2 separate regions of the Homo sapiens genome follow, and region 1 is linked to region 2. Evidence: promoter capture Hi-C in 16 types of primary human blood cells and fetal thymus (Javierre and others, 2016). All regions are on one chromosome and are shown on one strand. Each heading gives the region's core, a stretch centred on a gene start or on the middle of the fragment in contact. The rest is flanking DNA. Distances are from core to core; before and after follow the strand shown.

The links. Contacts are between HindIII fragments. The CHiCAGO score rates a contact against its expected background, and 5 or more counts as called.
Region 1: a contact is called between a fragment that was not itself captured here and the fragment with the promoter of PPP4R3A in region 2, in 1 of 17 cell types (activated CD4 T cells). The highest score is 5.7, in activated CD4 T cells.

Annotation. Positions count from the first base shown.
Region 1 is chr14:90,825,602-90,828,301 of GRCh38, forward strand. It overlaps LINC02321 (long intergenic non-protein coding RNA 2321), which reads right to left and starts at 2,573. Exons shown (of 4, transcript NR_184259.1): 1 at 2,388-2,573. RefSeq lists a silencer at 2,604-2,700. The HindIII fragment of the contact is 3,534 bases long and covers 1-2,700 here.
Region 2 is chr14:91,509,035-91,511,734 of GRCh38, forward strand. PPP4R3A (protein phosphatase 4 regulatory subunit 3A) reads right to left here and starts at 1,276. Exons shown (of 15, transcript NM_001366432.2): 1 at 472-1,276. The coding sequence starts at 613. RefSeq lists enhancers at 1-527, 528-1,178, 996-1,275 and silencers at 286-335, 586-645, 656-755, 1,336-1,535. The HindIII fragment of the contact is 5,922 bases long and covers 1-2,700 here.

The DNA of each region.
Region 1 (2,700 bases), core at 147-2,646, 680 kb before region 2:
TTTATTTAATTTTTTTTTTTTTTTAGATGGAGTCTCACTCTGTCACCCAGGTTGGAGTGCAGTGGCTTGATCTCAGCTCACTGCAACCTCCGCCTCCTGGGTTCCAGCAATTCTCCCTGCCTCAGCCTCCCAAGTAGCTGGGATTACAGGAATCTGCCACCATGCCCAGCTAATGTTTGCATTTTTTAGTAGAGACAGGGTTTCACCATGTTGGCTAGGCTGGTCTTGAACTCCTGACCTCAGGTGATCTGCCCACCTCGGCCTCCCGAAGTGCTGGGATTACAGGTGTGAGCCACTGCGCCTGGCAGAATGGTTTGATTTAAATGATGTTGTTGATTCACATATCAGGAGTTTGTTTGTTTGTTTGTTTTTTGAGATTAAAGTCTTGCTCTGTCACCCAGGCTGGAATGCAGTGGCACAATCTTGGCTCACTGCAACTTCTGCCTCTGGGGTTCAAGTGATCCTCCTCCCTTACCTTCCCAAGTAGCTGAGATTACTGGCATATGCCACCACGCCTGCCTAATTTTTGTATTTTTAGTAGAGACGGGATTTCACCATGTTGGCCAGTCTGGTCTCGAACTCCCGACCTCAAGTGGTCTGTCCACCTCAGCCTCCCAAAGTGCTGGGATTACAGGTGTGAGCCACCACGCCCAGCTGACATCAGGAGTTTTAAAGAGAAATCACGAACTAGGTGGGCACAAGGGACCTGGTTGTTCCTGGGGAGTTGTATCAGCAAACAGGTTTGAAGTTTGCACTTCGGACACGTTACTGTGAAAAAAAGAAACTAATTCTCATTTTGTGTGAAGGAGCCTGATAGACACAGGATCTGCTTCAGTGAGGAATTGTGAGTGATCTTCCCCTGCACAAGGCCAATAGGGTGCAAGGTTTCCACAGTTCAATTCAACAAACGTTTATTGAGTACCTACTATGTGCCGGACACAGTGTTAGGCCTTAGTGATACAATATTGTGTAGGGTATGGTCCCATCCCTCAAGGAACTCACAGTCTAGTGGGGGAAAGAAGTGAGCAACAGCTCTGCAGCCGGACCCAGAGGAACGCCAGGAATTAACTGTGGTGGGTGCTCCAGTAAGTCTTCCTGGAGAATGTTGCCCCCAAGCCAAGCCTTGAAAAAGGATCTCAGGTCCAGTCTGCTCACCAACCCTCACCATCTAACAAAGTGGTCCTGGGTTTTCAAAACTCTTGCACTCAAAATAGGGTCCCAGTATTCAGACATATGCAGTCCCAGATCACCCCCGACCATCAGATGAGAAAAACCCAACAATCTGGTCTCCTTTCCTGCAGCAAAGCACTTGGTGGTCAGAAGGGTTGGGGGTGAAGGTTTATGGGATCTGCTGGACAGCTGGTGAGGCATACAGACACTTCTGGTTATTATCTTTCTCCCAAATCAAATGCTAAAGGTACTAAAACCATGCTGACTGCATGAACCATTCCCTGGGGACTGGTAGGGCATTCCATTCCTCCCCACATTTGGGAGTCCAAACTGGGGTGGAGGGGTAAGAAGTAAAAGGTCTGGGTCAAGTGCTGCCCATCAGCTTGTTCATGATCAGGTACCCTTCAGTTTCCTTATTTGTAAGAGGAGAGTGCTAGTCAAGGAGGTCCTGGGCTCTGGTCGTTGATTCTGTCCTGTCAAAGTGAGAGTGGCTGGAATGGGATTGGTATATGGGTGCTCCCATACAGCTGAGGTTCCTTTCTGAGCTCTCAGGAAGCAAATTAAAAAAAAAATAATAATAATTACCAGGTGAGATGGCTCACAGCTGTAGTCCCAAGCACTTTGGGAGGCCGAGGCGGGTGGATCACCTGAGGTCAGGAGTTCGAGACCAGCCTGGCCAACATGATGAAACCCGTCTCTATTAAAAATACAAAAATTAGCCGGGTGTGGTGGTGGGCACTTGTAATCCCAGCTACTCGGGAGGCTGAGGCAGAAGAATCGCTTAAACCCGGGAAGCAGAGATTGCAGTGAACCAAGATCACTCCACTGCACTCCACCCTGGGTGACAGAGTGAGACTCCATCTCAAAAAAATAAAAAATGAAAAATAAAAATAAAACGAATAATAATAATAAGGCATCTGAAAAAACTCTTGAAGTTAGGAAACCTGGATTTGATTTTCATCTCTGTAACTGACCTGCCGTGTGACCTTGTGAAAGGCGTGTCCCCTCTCTGGGGGTGTCAGTGGACTAATTCCCGAGTTAGCTGTGGGGGGAGATGATCACTGGCATTTAACAGTAAGGTGGGGCTTCAGAAGTCCATCTACTGCGAAGCAAGAGAAAACTCCACGGAATACACGACTGAAACGAGTGGGAAGCCAGATGTGTCACGGACGTAGGGAGGGGAAGATGAAGGTCCCAGCAAAATCCCGGGAACATACCTGTCAAAGGGTCAGCGAGAAAACCAGTCCCTTGGCTGGTTGAAAGGAACACTTGATTCTTTGTCAGAAAGCAGCCTTGCGCTTCTAAGGGGTCTGCTGTCTGAAAGAAGCCTTCGAGGCTCGCAGACCTGGGGAAGAACTCAACCTGCCTTCAGCCCATGGGGACTGGGGCCGGCGCGGCTTTCTGGAATCGAACGGAACGAGGCGACCAGGCGCGGCGGCGGCAGCCAATGAGGGAGCCTCCTGATGAGGTCATGCAGTTCCTGGGCGCTTCATTGGCGGATCCTTCGCGGGGCCGCGGCGGGGGCCGCAG
Region 2 (2,700 bases), core at 26-2,525:
GAAAAACAAAAAAAGCACAGCAAAACGTTCTTCAAAGTGTGAAAGGTCCAAGAACTTTCTTAGCTCCAAGCAAAGTTTCATGCCTGCTTTACAGATGGGTGAACTAAGGCAGCAGATCGGATTAATCAGTGTCTTTCTCAAGGTCACTCTAGTGCAAAAGAACAGCACACTCCGGACTCCCTATCTCAGGTCCTCGACCTCTCCACACTCCAGGGCGGCACAGCTCAAACACGCTTGGCTCTCCTCGTACCCAAAATGCCACCAGGCACTCAGAGAAAGGAAACATTTCAAGCGCTCTCCGGGGAGCTCCCGCAAGACTGGGGTACCTGGGGCCCGTCCTCCCCCGAGGTGGCCGCCCTCCCCAGCCGTCCCTCTGTTCTCGTGGAGCGAGCGCCATGCCCCGCAAGAACCAGGGAGGCGGCCCAGGGCCGTGGGGGCTGCGAGGGTCCCGCCGCGCGGGGCTTCACTTACCGTCGCTCTCAGCCCTGACAAGCAGGGACATGCCCTTCAGCCGCTCCACGTAGCCAGACGACACATGCCCGGTGCCCCGGTCGTCCCACTGCCGGTCCTCGTTGAGCGTGTACACCTTCACCCGCCGCCGGGTGTCGGTCATCGTGCCGCCCGGGAACCGGGGCGGGGGCCCCGCCAGTAGACGCCCAGGAAAGGGGCCCTGGAGAGGCGAGGGGCGAGGCGTGAGGGCGCCCGCGAGCGGAGGGCTCCCCGGCCTCACTGCCGCCGCTGGGCGCCGCGGGGCCGCGCCGCCGCCTGCATGGCCCGCTCCAGGGACCGAGCTCTGGGCCGCCGCCTTTCCTCGCCTCCGGCTCCCCGGCGCTATTGTCCAGGCCTGGCGAGCCCGGCGCCCGGCAGCCCCGAGGGGGCCGCGCAGCGCTTCGTAGCCTCCCGCCCCGCAGCGCTAGGAACTCGGGGCTCCCGTCACTGCCCTGCTCCCGCCTCCGCCATGATCTCCGCGAAGCAGCTTCCCGCGCCGCCGCCGCCTCCTCAGGCCGCCGCCGCCGCCGCCATATTTTCCTTCCTTATACCTGGCCCTGCCACCGCGGCCAGTGGCTCCCTTCCGCTCCCCCTGTTTTAAACGTCAGAAGCCGACAGGCGCCTGATCCTGCTGCAACTGCTACCACTGCCCGGGAGACTCTGAGGGCCCCCGGCCGCCCAAGCGACCCGGACTAGTGGAAGTCGGTTTCCCTCCGCCGCCGTCTCTTCCGTCTTCCTCACACAGCCAAAACCGCCGCCATCTTGGTTCGCCCCTCAAAAGCGGCGCGCGGGGCCACCCAGGGAGCAGCTGCAGGGGCGGCTCGTAGCCCCACCATTTAAAGAGACAGCAGCGAGACCGGGAGCCTTACTGCGGCGGAGGCTTCCGACGGAGGCGGGAGGCGGGCGCGGAGTTGCCGAGGTGGCGGGAGCGCAGGGAGCGGAGGAGGCGGGACGCAGATTGCGCCGGTGACAGCCCGAGGCTCCCTCCCGCCTCCTTGCACGCACCGTCGTGCGAGCGCTGGGCGGTGTGTGCGTCCGTCGCGCCCTGTGTTCGTCATCAGCCCCGCTCCAGGATGCACGAGGGGCGTGGATACGTTTGCGGCCTCTGCCCGCGGGCCCCGGCGCTTCGGCCTCGCCTCCGCCCGCCGCCACCTTCCCTTGTTCCTGCCCCGTCCCTGCCTCTGCCCCTGCCCCTGGCCTGCGGACGCCGGGCAGCGTGGGCCTGGGCCCCTACCCGCTTCCGAGAGCGTTTTCCCGGGGCCGCCTTTATGGCTGAGTCGGGCGCTCGGGACCCACCCGGCGCCTTGCGGACTTGAGGGAATGAAATGGAAACGCTTCCGGGGAAGGTCGCGGGTGTGGGCGCCTAGGTCGGCGCAGCCTTGGGAGCCGCCGTGGGTCGCGGACTGGCGTGGCCAGTGTGGAAACTTGGGACTGTTTGCGATTTCTGGGCGTGGGACCGAGTTCCAAGTGACAATTCTAAAACTTCACCTTACAGCCTAGGCAAGCCCCAAGTGCTCCATTCCTTCATCCCTATCAGAACTGTCTGCCAGCCTTTCTTGTCGGAAAAGGAACTTAAGGCGCTCACAAAAACAAATGCGACACTGTGTAATCGGGAGGAGTAATTCTCAGCATTAGGTAGTCCTGTGTTTTGAAGACCTACTTGATGTCAAGTATTGTTGATCTTCACAAAGGAATATCATTCTCGTTCCTATCATGCAGCTCATATGCCACCATTTTGGTGGCTTTTACCATTTGCCAGGCCTTGCCAGGTCGGGCTTGTCCGCTCGGAATATAATGCAGCCACACACATAACTTTAAATTTTGCAGTAGCCACAAAAAGTACGAAGAAACTGGTGAAATTAGTGTTAACGTTTTAGTGCGGTATTTTCAAAAGTTATTTCAATAATCAAATTACTAATGAGATATACGTACAATGTCTTAAAAATGTGATATATTTTGTCCTTCCAGCAAGTCTCTGTTGGGATACTAAATTTTCATCAGAAATATCTACGTTTAGATTTTATTGAAAAAAAATTTTTTTTGAGACAGGGTCTCTCTGTCACCCATCCTGAAGTGCAGTGGCTCAGTCTCAGCTCACTGCAGCTTCAACCTCCTGGGCTGAAGCGATTCTCCCATCTCAGCCTCCCAAGTAGCTGGGACCACAGGTGCGCAGCACCACTGCCAGTTAATTAATTAAATTTGTTATTATTT